Regions from separate parts of the Homo sapiens genome. Here all the other regions are linked to region 4. Evidence: promoter capture Hi-C in 16 types of primary human blood cells and fetal thymus (Javierre and others, 2016). All regions are on one chromosome and are shown on one strand. The core of a region is centred on a gene start or on the middle of the fragment in contact, and the rest is flanking DNA. Distances in the headings are between cores, read along the strand shown.

Evidence for each region. The method cuts DNA at HindIII sites, captures the fragments that hold promoters and counts their contacts. A CHiCAGO score of 5 or more calls a contact.
Region 1: a contact is called between a fragment that was not itself captured here and the fragment with the promoter of TATDN1 in region 4, in 1 of 17 cell types (fetal thymus). The highest score is 5.2, in fetal thymus.
Region 2: a contact is called between a fragment that was not itself captured here and the fragment with the promoter of TATDN1 in region 4, in 14 of 17 cell types (erythroblasts, megakaryocytes, naive CD8 T cells and 11 more). The highest score is 11.6, in erythroblasts.
Region 3: a contact is called between the fragment with the promoter of TRIB1 here and the fragment with the promoter of TATDN1 in region 4, in 1 of 17 cell types (fetal thymus). The highest score is 5.3, in fetal thymus.
Region 5: a contact is called between a fragment that was not itself captured here and the fragment with the promoter of TATDN1 in region 4, in 7 of 17 cell types (megakaryocytes, total B cells, naive B cells and 4 more). The highest score is 8.0, in megakaryocytes.

Annotation. Positions count from the first base shown.
Region 1 is chr8:125,118,691-125,122,905 of GRCh38, forward strand. The region is part of intron 3 of NSMCE2 (NSE2 SUMO ligase component of SMC5/6 complex); the gene reads left to right. Among named protein-coding and RNA genes, the nearest start is that of NSMCE2, 29 kb to the left of the region's middle. The HindIII fragment of the contact is 1,431 bases long and covers 790-2,220 here.
Region 2 is chr8:125,050,470-125,054,458 of GRCh38, forward strand. It overlaps WASHC5 (WASH complex subunit 5), which reads right to left. Exons shown (of 29, transcript NM_014846.4): 18 at 95-196. Among named protein-coding and RNA genes, the nearest start is that of WASHC5-AS1, 12 kb to the left of the region's middle. The HindIII fragment of the contact is 989 bases long and covers 757-1,745 here.
Region 3 is chr8:125,428,344-125,432,227 of GRCh38, forward strand. TRIB1 (tribbles pseudokinase 1) reads left to right here and starts at 2,015. Exons shown (of 3, transcript NM_025195.4): 1 at 2,015-2,919. The coding sequence starts at 2,560. RefSeq lists silencers at 1,188-1,807, 2,538-2,877 and enhancers at 2,168-2,217, 3,688-3,777. The HindIII fragment of the contact is 12,242 bases long and covers 1-3,884 here.
Region 4 is chr8:124,537,052-124,540,754 of GRCh38, forward strand. TATDN1 (TatD DNase domain containing 1) reads right to left here and starts at 2,034. Exons shown (of 12, transcript NM_032026.4): 1 at 1,974-2,034. The coding sequence starts at 1,995. It overlaps NDUFB9 (NADH:ubiquinone oxidoreductase subunit B9), which reads left to right and starts at 2,072. Exons shown (of 4, transcript NM_005005.3): 1 at 2,072-2,236. The coding sequence starts at 2,136. RefSeq lists an enhancer at 1,895-1,964. The HindIII fragment of the contact is 3,000 bases long and covers 1-2,665 here.
Region 5 is chr8:125,071,434-125,075,175 of GRCh38, forward strand. WASHC5 (WASH complex subunit 5) reads right to left here. Exons shown (of 29, transcript NM_014846.4): 8 at 3,565-3,678; 9 at 1,720-1,891. Among named protein-coding and RNA genes, the nearest start is that of WASHC5, 18 kb to the right of the region's middle. The HindIII fragment of the contact is 793 bases long and covers 1,785-2,577 here.

The DNA of each region.
Region 1 (4,215 bases), core at 255-2,754, 580 kb after region 4:
GTAAAAATGTGTTGATTCTATTAGACCAGAGAACTATACGACTATTAAGGTTAAATTTTTAGATCAACTCTTCCAGGAATGAGGACTATACCTCTCACCTTTGCTGCTCTCCTTTTCAGTTGTGTGGGTTAATCAGTTTCATTTACCAGTGATTGATGCAGATCCTTTCACAAAATAAAAATAAACATTTCATATGAATCATAAGTATTTATTCTTCCAGGTTAATGGATCTTGATTTTGTTATCGATTACATTTTAAAACCACTTTTAAAAGACTTATACATATTGTGCGCATAAATTTCTTGTAATTTTGTCCTTCCTCCAGTGGCCCAGTTGTATTTGGGGCAGTTTTAGAATGTCAAAAAGGGTGAAATGTGCTTTCCTATTGGCTTCCTTACTCAGAAAGTTGAGTAGTTTCCTTTTTAAGAGCTATTGAGAGGAAAGTTTTGGCTGCTGTTCACCTCATCTCACCTCCTGTTACCGTGGAATCTCACTCCATAAATTTCCAATCATTCCAACACCTCCAGATTTTCTTTCCTCCACCGACTGTAACAACCTGAAAGTTGGCATGGTTTCTCCACATGATGGCGTGTGTGGAAATAATTACTTGCTGTGTTCCCCTGTTTGCTAAGCTCTCCCATTCACATTAGGATGTCACTTTGTGAAACAGTAAATGAGTCACTTTTTAGTTTTTAAAACAGCGTGTATAGTATCTGAATACCATCTGGGTTTTTCTAGAATCCTGAGAATAATTTTTCTATTAATTCTGCTTTTTTGTCTTTGGAGCTGAAGCTTGGTTTAGGTTTCAGTGGCCTAACAGGGTTTGAAAATGACCATCACAGAAAAAATGGAATTGGAGTCACTCAATCAGATTAAAATTAGACTAGCACTTTATTATATCTCTTTGATCATTGGAAATAATTGAGACTAGTTTAATGCTAAGCAAAGATGACAGCTTATGGAAGAAGTAGATAGAACAGACTTTAGGATTATTTTTGAGACATCAGATTCCTTTTTAAAAGACATAAAATTTTACGTCTTCTAGTAAGCAGAAAGGAGCTTTTTGTAGATTGGCAATTAACATAGCTAAACCAACTTGATTATTCTAGAGAAGATTATTTTATTATCCAGACCTATTTTTTCTCCCTCTTCTTTCTGTACTTTATAAATGAAATTATTTGTTATATATAAATGTAAAGCATTATTTATATATGTAAAGCATTATTATTTATATATGTAAAGCATTATTTATATAAAGTGTTAGCCACATGTGTAATTTAAAATTTTCTGCTGTCCTTATTACAAAAAGTAAGAAGAAAGAGGAAAGATTACTTTTAGAAATGTTTTATTTAAACAAATATGTCTAAAATATTTTAACATATAATCAATATGAAAGTTACTAATATTATTTTGACTTTTTTGATACTAAAATTAGAATCTTACAGTACATGTCAACCTGGACTAGCCATATTTCATATATTTAGTAGCCACATGTGAAAAGTGGGTACTGTATTAGATAACAGCACAGATATAGGTTATTTCATTTGTCAGTGACTGTGTCAGAGAAGGGCAAGAAAGCATAAGGATATTTAAATCAATCATCATGTAACATTTTAGAAGTTTTGGAGAGTACTCAAATCAAACCAGTCGGTAAAACGAGTTATTATCTGTTGATTTCTTTTGTATTTGTCACTTTTCTACCCTAGGTGTGATTGGTATTTTAATACATAAAATGCCAATTTTAAAAATAGTTTAGTCAGCCTAAAATGACTTACTTCTGAGGATCCTGCTAGTATTTGCTTCTGTTTGAAATGTCATGATAATTTGAATCCACATCTACAGTACTTTCATATTTTGTGGCTGATGTGGTAAACTAGTTTCTTACGATATTGGGCAAGCCAGAGGTTAAGCCTGTTAACTTCAGCAGCCAGAATACTGTACTCTAGTTGCTATAAACAATTAGGCCTGTCAGCAATTGACCTTGGAAATGCTAATTTGCTTGTCCCTGGGTGCTGCCTCAGGCACTGGCTTTCTCTCTGTGGGTGGGAGTTATGAACCTAGTTTGGAGGAGAACTTGAGGCATTTGGGGCAAGCTCCAAACAGATGTGCTTCTTGCTTCATTTTTGCATGTGACCAAGTCGCAAGAGGCGCATTCCTTGCATGAATTTCTTTGAAGGCCTTGTAGAATCAGACATGTATGCCTTGACTAAAGTTGAGAGGAAGCTTTATTACTTTTGAATTTACCCTTCCCTCTTCATTCTACTGCACATCTGCCATAACGAAGGTTGATTGAAAAATGCTACACAGTGATTTTCATCACTATTTCATTGTATTTCTTAAACTTACTGAAAAAGAACTTGGAAGGCATCTTTTATTAACTCTTTTGGTTTTGTGTTTATTACTACTATTATAGTAGAGCCAGGAGAAAGTGGCCTGAATAAGTGAGGAGAAAGAAATGTTAGTTGGAAAAGCTATATATACATGGTGAGAAGTTATAGGTAGCGTGCTCAGTAGATGAAGAAGGGAAAGAGAATATTTATAAAATTCAGAGTTACTGTCTTTTTAAACTGGTGGTGACAGCAGTGGCAGATTTTACTCCAAGACAAAGATTTGCGCTTCCTCTTCTTTTGGGCAGGTAATTTTGGACAAGGTAATTTTGTCCCTTTATTGTACAATACTGATTCAAACATTTATTTGAGGTTGGTTGATTGCCACTGTTGTTAGGTAATTGTTAGCATTTTATGTTGATCAGTCACCAATTATTATTGGCTCATGCCCTCAAAAGGCTAATAATTTTGTTAGCAGATAAGGCAAATAGGTATCCATGCAAAGATCAGGAGAACTACATGGTAGTAAGTAATGTGTGCCAAATGAGGAGACCATGAATCTGTATGTCTCAATCAAGAATCTGTGAATGTATTTTTACATTTTATGACCTAGCAGCCTGATTCTGTATCCCATAGGCATACATCTTTTGTAGACTCTAATTTAATAGGCAACTTAATAATAGCCAACTTGTGATGCTTTTTGTGTACCTGGCATGTTATAAATGCCTTATGTGTATTCATTCATTTAATCCTTACAGAAATACTGTCAGGTAGGTAGGTATCATTACCATTATACATATGAGTAAACTGAACCTTGAGGTTGACCAAGGACTATATACTGTATCTCTGAAGGAGTGGTTTTTGTTTTTTAACCACAATAATGGATTTCAGATTGGAAATATACATTTTAATTATTTACTCCTTACATATTCTCACCCATCATCCTTTGTAACCCTAACCCCTTCCCAATTGCAGTAAGCTCTGAGATAAGTTCTTACCTACGCATTATTGACCTAGGCCTGTGCTCAGTGTAGATAGCTCTTTTGCAGAGCTCTGACACCGTTATGCCTGAAGATGAGTTCTTCATTAAAACCATTTATAGAGTCCATTCTATGCCAACTCTGATGATTGACTTAGAAGGTTCTCTGGCTGAGCCAAAAAAAAAAAAAAAAAAAAAAATGCTGCCTATTATATGAAATGTACTATGCTAGAAATACAAAGATATGAAGATACTTCAACAAATCTCTAGATCCTTACTAGGATTGTAAGTCTTGATTACCGTGAATTGACTTCTTGGATCATCTTTGTTTGATTGTTTCTCTAGCCATAACCAAAGCATCTGGCATTTGCTTCCCGAAAAATGGTAGTTATTACCTTCTACAACTATTTTAAACCCTTGAGCATAACTTACAGAAGGTGCATGATGTCACTGGCTATATCCCCTTATACTCTATATACTCCAGTCATGGAGCCTGGTTTAAGTGCCATCAACATATGCTCTTTAAGCCTCTTTTCTCTGCTCACATGACTTCCTCTCCCTAGAATGCCCTTTCTCTGTTGAGTGCTTTGAGGGCACCAATTCATCTTTCAAGGATAAGCTTAAGTATCATCTTTTTTCTGCAGACATTCCTCTCCCACCCAAACCAAATTGATCTCTTCTTGGGTTCCTCTTTGTTTGTTGTACATTCGTCCATCTAAACAGCAGAGCACTTCTTTGCACTCAGTTGTATTTCAACTATATACTATATATATTTCAACCTTATACTTTAGCATAAGGTATTCTCACCACTAGATACAGGGGTTTGAAAAGACCAGTTAATAATATCCTGTTTCCCAGCCAAGTTGGGGCTTCGTGTTCCAGTCTGTGTTGCACTACTCAACTCTGCCAT
Region 2 (3,989 bases), core at 1-2,500, 510 kb after region 4:
TAAGGTCTTGTTCGCGATAGGTTAAAAATGGCATTCTAGTCCATGCTGCAAGCTGGGCGGAGAAGAGGACAGGCCCACTCTGGTCACTGGGTACCTTGGCTCGAGGGTTGAATATCAGTCCCCTATGCAGGGCAAAGGCAACGCGCTTCACAAGCTCTTTCCTTATTCCATCTTCCAGCAACTGCTTTGGATCCACCTAAGTGCCAATCAAAAGTATTAAATGATAGTTACGAAAAATTCAGTCCTAACGAAATCCAGAGGAAAGATGGCTTTCAGAATCTGCAGTGGGGCATTTTCCTACCTCCTCACTAAATGATTTGAATTTTTTCCTTTCCTGTCCCTGTGATCTTGCACAGCTTGGATGGAATTATTAAACCTGTCACCTTTTTAGGACTCTGTTTATTTCAGCAAAGTTCATGATGGTAATTTTACAACAAGACATTTCAAAGACGGTGAATAAGGAAAGTTTTAAATGGCCTCACATTCTAATTAATGGCCCCTCTTTTTGGAGTTTTAAATGGCCTCACATTCTCATTAATGGCCCCTCTTTTTGGAGGGGCAGGATGAAGGACCTATGACTGAATTTACAGATGCATGTTCTTCCTTTAGATTTTATTTCTAGGCACCTTATATCCACATGAGCAAACTCAGATTTGAGGTCGGGCCACTCTGTAAATTGAATAATTATCTTTTCTTTCAGCATTCTTGGAATTAGGGAGATAAAATAAGAAAGCAAATCTGCTATCTAACTCTACAAGCTTACTTTGCTAATTATTTCTCCTATAATGAAAAGGTTTTGTTATTCCTTTAAAAAGTCTCTTATCAGATCCATAAAACATCAAATGATTTTTACATACTCCCTTGAATTCTCTGAGACTTGTTTCTTTTACTTTTAATTTGTAAAGAACCATTATTTTAAAAGGTCATAAAGGCAATTAATGGGTTCCATCCAGTTTTGATTGTATTTAAATTTCAAATAAGACAACTGCAAGGGGGTTACAAAAACACAAAAGCCAGAGAAACACATTAAACTACGTCAAGATCGTTCAATCAGGGAAATCCAGACTGTGGAGCAACTGAAGGTGAAAGGCCCTATGTTCTTCAACAGATGAATTAAAGGGAAAGAAAGGAAGGAGGGCCGGGCGTGGTGACTCACGCCTGTAATCCCAGCTCTTTGGAAAGCTGAGGCAGGCGGATCACCCAAGGTCAGGAGTTCCAGACCAACCTGACCAACATGGAGAAACCCCGTCTCTACTAAAAATACAAAATTAGTCGGGCGTGGTGGCACATGCCTGTTGTCCCAGTTACTCAGGAGGCTGAGGCAGGAGAACTGCTTGAACTCGGGAGGAGGAGGTTGCGGTGAGCCTGCACCATTGTACTCCAGCCTGGGCAACAAGAGTGAAACTCTGTCTCAAAAAAAAAGACTTAAAAGACATAACATAGTTTTTCAAATGGGCAAATCTAAGCTATAGTCTGGAAATTAATGACATATAGTTTCACTGGATAATAAAACTATACACAGGAGGCCTGAGATGAGGTCAGGGTGCATGAGGGGGCTTTCAGGAGTGGGGCTCACTAAATCCTATTTCTTAAGTGGTAGTCAGAATGACTTGTGTTTACCTTGTAATAACCTAATAGGCTACATCATTCTTTCTTTAGTTTTCAGCATCTGTGCTTTATTATACAATAAAAAGGTAAATTATAAAGATATAGTCAATGAGTACAGAATCAAAGAAGTATCATGAAGCTTTCAAAGAAATATTCCTTACAAGAACAGATTTACTAAAAGAGTTCAATGCTTTCGTGAATCTAAAGATCGCATGCGGCTCTTCTAATCCTTCCCGCATTCTCACTAATCTGTGGAAGTGTTCACAGCTAAGAGAAAGCCATCTTCACACACCCCTTCCTCACATTTCTATTCCCTTCCCCTGAAGTTAACAACAGTAACTGTTTTCATATGGATCATCCAGACCTTTCTCCATTCGTTTATATACATAAATATCCATCCTTACACATATATTTAATTTCAAAAATCTAAATGGGATCATATACATGTATATGTACAGAGACACGCAAGTATATCACACACATATATTATACATATATACACATAGTTGCATGCATGTATATCACACACACTACACACACACACACACACACACACACACACATACATACATGTTTTTCTGCAATTTGCTTTTTTCATTTTCCACCTTGGAGATTTTCCAGTACTAAATTCTTTTTGAATCGCTCTAGACCAATCCACAGTACGAATGCACCATGGAATATTTAACCATTCCCCTACTGATGATGGATGTTTAGATTACAGATGCTCCTTGACTTAAGATGGGGTTACATTCCAATAAAATCGTCGTAAGTTGAAAATATCAGAAGTCAAAAATACACTGAATATACCTAATCTACCAAACATCATAGTTTAGCTTACCCTACTTCAAATGTGCTCAGAACACTTACATTAGCCTACAGTTGGGCAATATCATCCAACACAAAGCCTATTTTATAATAAAGTATTGAATATCTCATGTAATTTATTGAATACTATACTGAAAGTGAAAAACAGTATGGGTATCATATGAAGTTGAATCATTTTAAGTTTGAGACGACCTGTATTTCTTTTTTTTTTTTTTTGCTGCCTCTAACAATGAATGCTTATATCTCTGTGTATATCTCACTTGTTTTAAGTCAATATCAACCAAACTGAACCTACACTTTTTATAAGTGTTTGAAACACAACCTCAACACTCTGAGGTTAAAGATCAGCGAGGGCCACAGGATTACTTTTAAAAGCCCTTAGTTGTTATTGGTAGACTAGCAGAGAGAGTCTACTGGGTTGAATGTAGTTGGTCAGCAGAGTATTCCTTCTGCTGTTATAATCTGAAACACTGTGGGAAAAGATCAGTATTTTACCAAGCAGTCTTGGTAAAATTCTTTTGATAATTATTGTTAATTACCTGTAAGAGGTTTTATTACATCCTTCTTACAGTGGTCACTTTGCAGTCCTAGGATTTATCATCCTGTGTGTAAGAAGTGACTAAAATGCATGTACATTCTCTACACATCAATTGAATTCACCTGGGATCAGGCCTAAAGCATGTTTAGCAAATTCTATTAATATTCTAGGAAATACCATGGTATTTCCTTTAGCATACTTCCAGAAAACACATACCAAAGTTCCATTTAGGTACATTTCCTCTATTTTCTTTGATTTTAATAATGCAAATATTAATATGGCAATTAGGAATGTTGAGATTCTACTGATGTCAGATATATAGAAAAATAAAGAAAAGCACCATAAACTATATGAATGGGCCCATCGCTACTCACCATAACATTCCAAATTAAAAAAGCAATGAGATACTTTATACCTCTTGGGAGAACAAAATTAGAAAGTGGATAATATCAAGTATTGGTGAAGATATAAGCCGTTAAGTCCCAATGGCCTTCTGATATTTCCAACTTGTGATGAGTTTATTGGGATGTAACACCACTGTAAGTCAAGGAACATTTGTATCTCAACATCCATCAGTGGTGGAATAGTAAATACACCACGGTGCATTCGTACTATGGATTGGTCTGCGGCCACTTGAAAAGAATGTAGATTTCAGAGGAACTCTTGCACAGGTCTGGAGTGGGGATATGCTCAGAGACGTTCATCATGACATTGGTTGTGATAATGGGGGGCACAGGTGTCTGTCCCAAGCTGGATGGTTAAGAAAAATGTGGAATTCTATGCAGCAGTAAAAAGTAACCTACTATCTGACCTATAGCAATATAAATAAATTGCAAAAGCAATAACCAGTAAGAGAAGCTGGAAAAAGAATGAGACTTAGAGCACAATATGGTTGAGATAAATCAAAAGCACATGCACACATCAAATAATGCCATATGCTAAAAATAAGAATACTTGCATATGTAGGAACAATTACCAAATCCACAAAGTTGGTGCTATGGGTAATGGAAATGGAAGC
Region 3 (3,884 bases), core at 765-3,264, 890 kb after region 4:
GTTCTTTTTTTAAATTATTATTATTATTATTTTTTATTTTTTGAGACTAAGTCTTGCTTTCTCCCCAAGGCTGGAGTGCAGTGGCACGATCTCGGCTCACTGCAACCTCTGTCTCCCAGGTTCAAGTGATTCTCCCACCTCAGCCTCCCCAGCAGCTGGGATTACAGGCGCGCGCCACCACACCCAGCTAATTTTTGTACTTGTAGTAGAGACGGGGTTTCACCATGTTGGCCAGATTGGTCTTGAACTCCTGACCTCAGGTGATCTGCCCACCTCAGCCTCCCAAAGTGCTGGGATTACAGGCGTGAGCCACCACGCTTGGCCTAACTTCATCCTTCTAAGGCTTCAGTTTCTTCCCTGTGAAATGGGGCAAAAAATAACCCCATAGTGTGGTTGGAAAACTGAAGTAATACATATAAAGTGCTAAGAACAGTGTCCGACACATTGTAGGCCTCGATTCATGTTAGCTATTATTATTATTTTAATTTTCACCTTCTAATTCCCAGCGTTTAGCTCTTGGTAGATGCTTAATTAGTATTTGTTGAATGAATGGAGAATTAATAAGGAAAATGATTTATTCCTGGGGCTCGACCTGGTTTTAGAAAATTAAGTATTTAGCAGAAGGACAAGTAAGGGCTCTCTAATAATAGTTATATTGTTGGGTGCCCAGGGACTCCAAACTGACCTGGTTCACTCAAGAAAGAAAAATGACAGATTCCAAGTTGTTTCACGCGCAACTTTGATGCTCTTCCAAATCACACGGAATGAATGCATGCGCACCACCAGGCAGGGCTGCCCGGGTGCAGGCGGTATCTCTGGCAGTGGCCAGAATGACTTCCACCAGCCTACCCACCTACCCAGGTTGGCACTCAGGCCCTAGACCCTGCGGCGCGTGTGGAGGCTGGGGAGGGAGTAGGAATCCGGCGGCAGCCACGTGGGCCCCTTCCGCCCGCTCCCCACATCCTTTGTTTCCCACCGGCCCTGGCTCAGGAAGCTCTTTCTGCGAGTCACCGCGAAGGGGCGGCCCGGGAGCCTGGAGAAGCTATTTCCGTGCAATCCGGGCGGGCGGCAGGCGCGGGGGGGTTGGGGGGGCGTGGAGGTGGAGGCAGCGCAGAAGGCCCAGTGTTTGCTTTTATTTCCTCCAACAGAAGGTTCTATTTGTGGAAGCGAACAGACGCTGGGGATTAGAGCTGGGAGGGGGCAGGAAAAGGGAAAAAAAAAAGCCACATCCACTACCACGCACAGGTCTTCCCCGGAACTACCGCGTGGGGGTGAATGACTGATTCTGGAATTCATCACCTCCCTATCCCCCTCCTTCCTCCGGCTGCAGCCGGGCCTCGGCGGCGCCCACGGCTCCAACCGGAGCTCCCCAGGCGCTGGGCGGTGGGGGGATCCCCGGGGCGAAAGGCGTCGCCGCGGGGCTGCAGCGAGCGGCGGGTGCAGAGAACCGTGGTGCGCGCTCCCGCCTCGCGCCCGCAGCCCATTGTGCTTACTGTGAATGAGGCGCGCGCACCAATCAGCGGTCGCTTCGCTCCCCGCAGCCCCGTCCCTCCCGCCCACTTCCCCGGGCCCTTACGTCACGGGAACTTTTCCTCCGCCCCCTCCTTCGGCTTCTCCGCTGAGCTGGGGGCCTGCGGGAGGGCGCGCGCGCCGCCTCCTGCCCAGCCCCTCCCAGCCCTGGGGGCGTGTGCGCGCGTCCAGGCCGGCCCGGGACGCACCACCTGCGCCCGAGCGCGCGCTGCCCGGAGCATCCCCAGCCCTAAGTCCACCCCCATTCCCCCCACCTCCTACTCCCTCTCCCCTTCCCCCAGTCTCCTCCCTCCGCTCCGGAGACTGCTCGCTGGGCGGCGGGGCCGGAGTCGTCGCAGCCACCTCATTGCACAACCCGGCTTCCCAACTGTTTACACAGCCCGGCCTGTGAGTGTGTGTGTATACAGCGTGAGTCACCAGGAGGCGGAGGAGGTGGAGGAAAAGGAGAAGGAGGAGTGCACTGGCCGGGATCGGTGCAGCGCTCACACTCACTCACAGTCACTCTCTCTGAGCGCGTCTCGCTCGCTCTCATACACGCCCGGAGCCCAGGAGCGCTCAGGATCCCGAGCGCCGCGAAAAAGTTCCCCCGGCTTTTGCTGGAGACTCATCGCTTTGGGAAGTGCATTTGCTTCGTGGCTCCGCCGAGCCTGCTGAATCCTGTCCTCGCGGCTCGGGACCCCGGGATCGCTGACCGCTGCCGCCGCCGCCTCTGCCTCCCGGACTATCGGCAGCCTCGGCAACAATAGTGGCGGCCGCCCCCAGCGAGGCTCCGGGAGCCCTTGCCTGCGGGGGTCCGGGGACTCGAGCCGGCCTCCGCCTCCCGGACGCACAGCCAGCGTGGTCCCCGCGTGCAACGCGAGCGCCGGGGAGTGGCTCCTGCTTTGCCCCTCGTGGGGGCCGAGCCAAGACCAGTCTGCAAACTCCATCCCGCCGGCTGGAAGAAGTCGCGGAGCCGGCACCAAACCCGCAGCGTCTTCCCGCGCGGATCCCGGGACTTAAAAAGCCGGGGCCACCCCGGCCCAGGACGGGATGCGGGTCGGTCCGGTGCGCTCTGCCATGAGCGGCGCCTCGCAGCCCCGCGGCCCGGCCCTGCTCTTCCCAGCCACCCGAGGCGTCCCGGCCAAACGCCTGCTGGACGCCGACGACGCGGCGGCTGTGGCGGCCAAGTGCCCGCGCCTCTCCGAGTGCTCCAGCCCCCCGGACTACCTCAGCCCCCCCGGCTCGCCCTGCAGCCCGCAGCCCCCGCCTGCCGCTCCGGGGGCCGGCGGAGGCTCCGGGAGCGCGCCGGGGCCCAGCCGCATCGCCGACTACCTGCTGCTGCCCCTAGCCGAGCGCGAGCATGTGTCCCGGGCGCTGTGCATCCACACTGGACGCGAGCTGCGCTGCAAGGTAGGCGCTCCCGGGCCAGGACCCGGCTGGGGTCGGGGGCGCGGGACGGGGTGGTAGGCAAAGGTGCTTGGGGTCCGGCCAACGCTTGGGCTGGGCACAGGGCGGATCAGTAGATTGGGTCAGATAAGACGCCATTTGACCAGGTTCACGTTTTTGTGGATCGAGGGGTTTCCCATGGAGTGATATAATGGGGGCGCCTAGAGGAAGTGCAGTGTTCAGTGGCTTTCTCTATCTGTTCCTTTCCTCAGCGCCCAGTGTAGCGCGTGGCGTTCCATATAAGTTGTGGAATTGAAATGGATTCCAGGGCCATGCCATTCCCCTTCTCTCATTCTCCTCGCTCTCCACCCCCCCTCCCCCGCCAATGTCCTGGAAGGACGCCCTTTAGTGGGTGCCTCCTAGGAGCTTGGAGCAGCTGGCAGCTCTCTTGCCGGGCTTGCACGGCACCCGGGCTCAGTTGTAGGTGGTAAGGGGGCTGGAAGACTGTGTCCGGCTCCTGCCTTGGGGATTCCGAATTGAATCCGCGCTGAGACTAGAACACGCCCTCCCAAGGGAGCAGTCCCAGAGTCATCCACCCGAGGCGGAGGAATCTGCTCGGAGTAGAAATGTTGAAAAGCCCACACCGGCCAGGAACCCTCGCTTCGATTCACTTTATTTTCCAGCCAGCGATTTTCCTTTGAACATAGGGATCCCATCCAGGAGGAGGAGACACAGCTCCTAGAAACAGGATCCGCCGGGTCCTCCTCCTGCGCGGGTAGACGCAGAACGTTCCCACAGTCTACTTTATGCGAGCGTGGCACCCCTGCTTGAGGCACCCCAGAGCACCCTCGGGCCGCTCCTTTTCACCCGAAAGATAGGATCACCCCCCAGTTAAGTCGCTTCTGGGTTTTCCGCAACTCACCTGACACTCCCAACACCCCGACCCCGTCCCGGGGCTCGCTGCTGCCACCTACTGCCCAACCCGAATG
Region 4 (3,703 bases), core at 784-3,283:
AATTATTTATTCCAATAAAGTCACCTTCTTTAAGAAGTCTTTTCTTGCTTATTTTATCTGATGCTAATCCCTTTACTAATTTTCTTATCACCTTAGCACTAAAGCCACTCATTCATACTTTCCCAAACAGTCATTGTACTACGCCCCTAGGAAAAAAATATAAATACCATACCAGTATCTGCCTTAAGAGTTTGATCTAGTGGGAAAGGCATACTCATATTTAATTATAAATAATGTGGTATAAGTTTTAAGGAGTGAGTAGGCAGACAGGCAACAGGGTAGTTGGTAGGCAGAGGAATATTTTGGCCCCAAACTGCCACTCTAAAACCTTGTCAGAGGTAACAAACAGCATGCACAAGTGTTTATAGAGCAGCCCAGGGATGGGCTAGAAAAGTGGGCAGGACTGGACCACAGAAGGGCTTTGTATGGTGTGTAAGCATTTAGGCTATCCTGAGGAGCGTAAATGAAAGATTTGAAGCAAAAGAAACATTTAGCTGATTTGATTTTTAGATACACCAAAATGGAGTCTACATGGAGGATGGATTTAAGACATTAACTTGAGGCAGGAATTTGGTTGTATAACATAAACACACTTTTAAAAAGTTATGTGGCCTTTCTTTACGGAGTACTTCATGGCTCTTTATTCCATCTCCCTCATCAATTATATCAAAGGTTAGGATGGAAAGGCTAAGACACGGCAATGTCTTATTTGACAACCCCTCCCCAAACCCCTACTCCAGGCTTTCCCACAGCAATTTCAAAACCTTTTTCCTGGCACTTAACATATTCTCCCCTGCATTTGCTTTTGACTGTACAGTACATAGGTCTTAGGTCTCCAGTCTGAAAACTGCACCACTAGATTTTACAGTTCCACAGGACTTAGCACAACGTCTTTGAAAAAAAAAAATACTGCTTAAATAACTCTCAGATCTAAATGTATAATCCTAATCTCTTGATTGCCAGACCACATTCCCAATTGCCCAGATATCTCTACCTGGATGTCCTATAATTATCTCAAACTTAACCTAATCCAAATGGACCTGGGTACCTCTCTTCACCGCCAAACTAGTCATGCTTCCATTTCATATTTAAGTACTTTTCCAAACCCTGAGTCATCTTTGTTCACTCTCTACTACCGGCCATGAACACTCAGCTGCTAAATGCTGCACACATCTCTTCCATTTCTCTCTCTTTTCCATTACCCTAGTTTAAGCTCTTGAAATGCTTCCCTACCTCTCCCTATTTCCCACAAAACCTACATAATAGCTATCAGGATTACCTTGCTAAAGCAGAGGTGTGATCACTGTCATTTCCCACCTTCAGGTAGCTGGAAACCCCACAAAACGAGGATCATGCCCATTTAAATCCCGCAGCATTCTCCCTCTCGTTCTACTGATGCCGACTGGATCATTGTACTTGCCAAGTACAGTTTGTTTTTCTCCCCATTACTTGTGTTTTCTAGTTTCTCCACCAGATGGTGATGACAGTACAACTGGGAGCTTTGTGCCCTGTGTTCCTAGGCCAGTGCCAGGCCCACTTGAGGCGCTCACTAACTATGATATGAACGAATGAATGCTTGAGTGAATTGGTCCCCAGAAGCGGTCAGCCTCTCCGCCAAGGCAGAGGGGAAGGGCCGGGAGGTGCACGTGGGATGAATGGAAACATAGTGATTGGCCTTTTTGGAGTTTTCTTCTTAAAAAACTGAATACATTACAGATGTTGAAAACAGCACAAAAATCATAACTGTACGGCTTGTTAATTTTTACAAATAAATACACCCTCGTGAATCCAGAACCTAGATCAAGAACCAGAGCATTACCAGCACCCAGAAACCTCCCCGCGCCCTCCTCCACTGAGCGGCCCTTTCAACCCTTACAATGCCGGAGGGCGCAATTCCTGGGTCCTGTGACCTTGGTGACCGACGCCCGGGACAAGTCAGAAAGACCCAAGGGCGTGGAAAACGCTCCTCTTACCGATAAACTTGAAGCGACTCATGACTGCGCATGGAGGACCTCCCCAGCGGAAGCGGAAGTGGCCGCCGGCAACTCCGCCCTTCCGGCTGGCCCCGCTCAGTCACCCGCAGCAGGCGTGCAGTTTCCCGGCTCTCCGCGCGGCCGGGGAAGGTCAGCGCCGTAATGGCGTTCTTGGCGTCGGGACCCTACCTGACCCATCAGCAAAAGGTGTTGCGGCTTTATAAGCGGGCGCTACGCCACCTCGAGTCGTGGTGCGTCCAGAGGTAAGGGATGGGGACCCAGGACTCGGGGAGGTGACCCTCGGGGCCCCATGGAGGTGGAGAGGCCCCTGGGTACCTGGAGGTTCAAGGACTTCGGGAACGGAATTGGAAGGTGGCCTCTCGCTTCACAGAATCCTATGGTAGACCCGGGTTCAAATCCAGGCTTCGCCACTTATGGCCGGGAGACCTTGTAGAGTTGCTTGTCGGGTCTGGGCGTCAGCTTTTTGTTTAGTAAAACGGACGCACGACCAGCGCAGAGGGTCGCAGGAAAATTAAGTGAAATAAAGGAAAGTGCCTAAAATTGTAATTGTCATGGGTCCAGCGCTCGCTCAATCGTTTTCTTCACGATCTTCTCCTTTCCAATATTAACAGCAATAAACTATGCATTATTTTCTTCAGTCTGCAAAACTCTAGGAGTTAGGAATTATCTTAAGCTTATTTTACAGATAAGAAGATGAGCACAGCTGGTAACTTGCGCAAGGTGATAGAGTTTCTAAGTGTCTGAGCCAGGGTTAAAATTTAGGTCTTTCTCCAAAGCATCATCATTCTCCCACCCCTCCCATTAGCTTTTCTCTTTTTAGCTTCATCTAGTCCTTTTCATTACCTTTACATCTTTTTCACCTCTTACATAATTCTCTTTCGACCTCTATCCGTCTGAGACTAGTCTGAGAACATAGTGTTAAAATGTGTAGATTTTAATCACCTAAATTCATTGCAGGGTGGGCTAACAACCCAAGATGTGTGAGTGCCTCGCCTCCACTCCAGTCTTACGACTCTCCAAACGTAGTTTTATAAGAAGGCCTTCTGGGAAAAAAACTCTATGGAAAATGGAGTAGGCCTGGAAGAATTACAGAGGGTACCCTCGAAGCCCAGATTGCATATATGTGACTATTAGAAAATCACTGACATACTTCTCTTGATTTGGCAGGAAGATGGCCAAGTACAATGTGATGGGATTGTTAGTTTCTTCCTTGAGTTTTCCTTATTTATTTATTGATTTGACAGAATTTGCAATTCAGATTCTATGCTCTATGCTAAATATATAAATGTTAGTAAATCCATTTTTGAGCAGCAGCAGCTCACGGATTAGTGGGGAAAATGGACATGTAAACAAATCGATGATGAAGGAAGTTGAGCCATCAGGGATTCAGGTATCCCAACACAAATGGTAAATGTTTGAGGTGATGAATATCCAAATTACCCTGATTTGATCATTATACATTATATGGATGTATTAAAATATCACATGTACCCCATAAATAGGTACAATAATTATGTGTCAAAAAAAGTTAAACATGAAAAAAAGAATTCAAGCAATACTGAACTATAGCTGGGAATACTAAAGTCCATAGTTCTAGAGGAAAATGATATAAACTAGCTACTATGACAGTTATGGCTCAGCATTTTTTAGATCTGACATTCTTTCTCAATCCTTGCCTTAATTTCTTCCTCCATTTGCCCTCATTGTGC
Region 5 (3,742 bases), core at 931-3,430, 530 kb after region 4:
CTTAAATAAGCACTCTGGTCCAGCCAGGTCATCAACTCAGTGGGCCCATATGTTTTTCTGTACTTTCAAAATCGTATCACTTATTCCATCATTTCTGTAGTCTAGAATTTCTTCTGCTTTTTGCTTCAAAACCTCATCACACGCCTGGTTGGCTCCTGATTCCTGTATGGGGTTTCCTGACCTCCTCTGCTCCCCTATCCCAAGCAATGTTTCCCTCTCTACTCTGAACTCAAATCACACCAACTGTCTGTTTGACACACCTGGTGTCTGTTTACTGCCTTGGACCTTGAATTAGTTTCCCGCTGCTGCTTTAACAATTACCACAAACTCAGTGGCTTAAAACAACACAAATTTATTCTCTCACCATCCCAGAAGTGACAAATCTGAGATGGGGCTCACTGGGCTAAAATCAAGGTGATGGCTGCGCTGGGCTCCTTCTGGACATTCTAGGGGAAAAGTCTGTTTTCTTGTTTTCAGCAGCTAAAGGCTGCCTGTATTCCTTGGCTTGTGGCCCCCTCCATCTTTAAAGCCAGCAATGGCCAGTCAGGTTTTTGTCACAATGCTATCTCTCTGGTTCTGACACTTCTACCTCCCTCTTCCTGATTTAAGGACCCCTATATTTACAGGCTGGGCATGGTGGCTCAGACCTATAATCCTAGCACTTTGGGAGGCCGAGGTGGGCAGACTGCTTGGGCTCAGGAGTTTGAGACCACCCTGGCCAACACAGTGAAACACTGTCTCTACAAAAAAATACAAAAAACTTAGCCAGGCATGATGGCACACACCTGTAGTCCCAGCTGCTTGCGGGGATTGCGGAAGTTGTATCGCTTGAGCCCAGGAGGTCTGAGTGAGCTGAGATTGTGCCACTGCACTCAAACCTGGGGAACTTGAGATCCTGTCTTAAAAAAAAAAAAAAAGTGGGGGGGGGGGGCGGGCTCTTATTTTATTATTCTTTTTTGAGACGTGGTCTTGCTCTGTCACTTAGGCTGCAGTGCAGTAGCATGATCTTGGCTCACTGCAGCTGCAACCTCCCAGGCTCAAGTGATCTTCCCACCTCAGCCTCCCCAGTAGCTGGGACTACAGGTGTGTGCCACCATGCCCAGCTAATTTTTTTACTTTTTGTAGAGATGGGATCTCACTGTGTTACCCAGGCTGGTTCTGAACTCCTGGGCTCAAGCTCTCCTCCTGCCTTGGCCTCCCAAAGTGATGGGATTACAAGTATGAGCCACCACACACAGCAAGGACCCTTATGATTACACTGAGTCCACTGGGATAATCCAGAAACATCTCCTTAAAGGTCAGCTAATAGGCAACCTCAATCCCCCTTTTTCATGTAATATATCTACCGGTTCAGGGACTAGGGCATGAACATCTCTGGGTGTGGGCTGGAAGGCACTATTCTGCCTACCACAGATCTGCAGTTCTATTTTTTCATATGTCTACATTTGATCTCCCCATTCTGATCAGTGACAAGCTCCTTGAACATGAGAGATAAACATCCTCTTATTCCCTAGCACCTAACAGTACCTGACAGGGGAGAGCTTTTCAGGTATGCTAGTGGCCTATCCAAGTTGACAAAAAATGACTAACTTTAAAAAGCAACTTGATTCTCATCCAAGGCCTCTCTCCCTGCTAAACCACTCTGCATCGTGAAGTAGGTCCTGATTCTGAGAGTCTTTATGTGGAGTAATATAAACGGCCACCCCTTTTGTGCATTACCTGAGTCTGCTGTATGAAGCATCAGCCATCGGATGGCAACATTGCAGTCTCTCAGGCAGTTCAGAAGCTTTGGGATATTGTCCAGAACCATCTCCTCCCTTAAATAACCTTCTTTTAGAAATTGCTGCACTTGAGCATGCACTCTTTCACTGACAGTAGCATATCTGCTTGCCTTGACAAATAAGAAACTTGAATTACATTTAAAAAGTCATTTATCTTGAAAATAAATCACATTCAAATGAATTCACTGACAAATAGTAACATTTCTATATAGGATGAATGACATATGGATTACAGTTATAGGGCTCGAAGATAACATTTCTATAAGATGAATGACATATGGACTACAGTTATAGGGCTCAAACTTTAACATTTTTATATAATTTCTGTACAAGATGAATGACATATGGACTACAGTTATAGGGCTCAAACATTAACATTTTTATGTAATTTCTATATAAGATGAATGACATATGGACTATAGTTCTAGGGCTCAAAGATAACATTTCTATATAAGATGAATAACATATGGACTATACTTATTGGGCTCAAAGACAACTGGCTTATTGAACATATTTGAAAAAAGCACTGGACTTAGAATTCTGAGACTACATCCTAGTTCTGGCTGTGATTAAACTTTGGTGTGACTTGGGGCTTAACCCCTGTGTATTGGTTTCTTCAAATTTCAAACGGAGACTTGGACCAGGTGGTTCCTCAGAACTCTTCTATTATTAACTTAGATGAAAAAGAAAATAAAGACAGAAGTTCAATTGCTTGTTCTTGCTAATACTGTTGACAAAGAAGGCAGAACAGAGCAGAAACACTTAAAATATAAGACTTCTTCTACAGGCTTATGAAAGCTTAGCAAAAAATACACCTTAGTATATCAAAAATGAATTTCCAAACCAGCTTTTTGGAAAATTTGGTCATTCTGCTTTACTTAAAGGAAGTCAAATGTTAAACATCATTAACCTCATCAAGTTAGTTGAAATCTGTGGTATCAAGAAACCTCTTAAAAATGTCACAAATGAGAAAATGCAATTTTAGAAAGGGATTTTAGCAATGAAAAATTAATGATCTGATGTTGCTAAGTATAAAAGTGCCACTTTCTCTAATATATTTCTAGGAGATGTGCCAACATTGAAATTATTTTGTGCATTATTTATGGAATTCAATTTACTTGAATAAAACATGATGAAGTTTTTTGAGTCAATATTGTTTTATCCACACAGGAAACTCAGTAACTGAGCCAGGATGAGGAACATAACCATTTAGAAATATCAAGTATGCTCCCCAAGATTTTATCTTTATTCCTCTACTTACTTGGATGTTCCCTTCTGCCTTGTGTAAGAACAAAAGAGATAGAATATAACCGTTTAACCTTTAAGATGAATGTCTTGAGTCTTGTTGCTTATTTAGCACAACACAAATGATAAATTTAAATTACAGTGACAGGACATATTATCCATATTCAGTTATCATCTTCATCATTCATCCTACTTATAAAAACATATTAATTCCAGCTATTGGTACAACCAACTCTGGCCATGAGAATATAGTCTTTAAGCAAAAGTAAACTAAGTCATTTGGGGCATATGCCATGCTTCTTTGTCTTAGGGTACTGACTCTTCCTTGGGATCCTAATCTTCAATTTACATATACTATATAACAAAACCTACAATTACCTATCTTATTCTAACCTATAAAATTCACCTTTTATTAATCATTGCATTAAATTATCTAAGTGATTATCTTCCAAATTCCTTGGGAAATCTACTTAGCTTATTTGCTACTTCATAAACTAGGCCTGCAGTTATCAGAGAATGTCCCCAGATTAGAACCTACCTGTTCTCTGACATTTGAAAGGTCCAGGGTATTATTTAAAGCAGTTTTTGCAGCTTTGTAAGGTTCCCAAGCATCTACTAGATTAACTGTGATCCCCATGTAAATACTAATTACCTGAAAGAGGAGACATTCAGAATTTGTTAAATTCCTACTCACTTCAAGGCAAAGGGTTGAATAC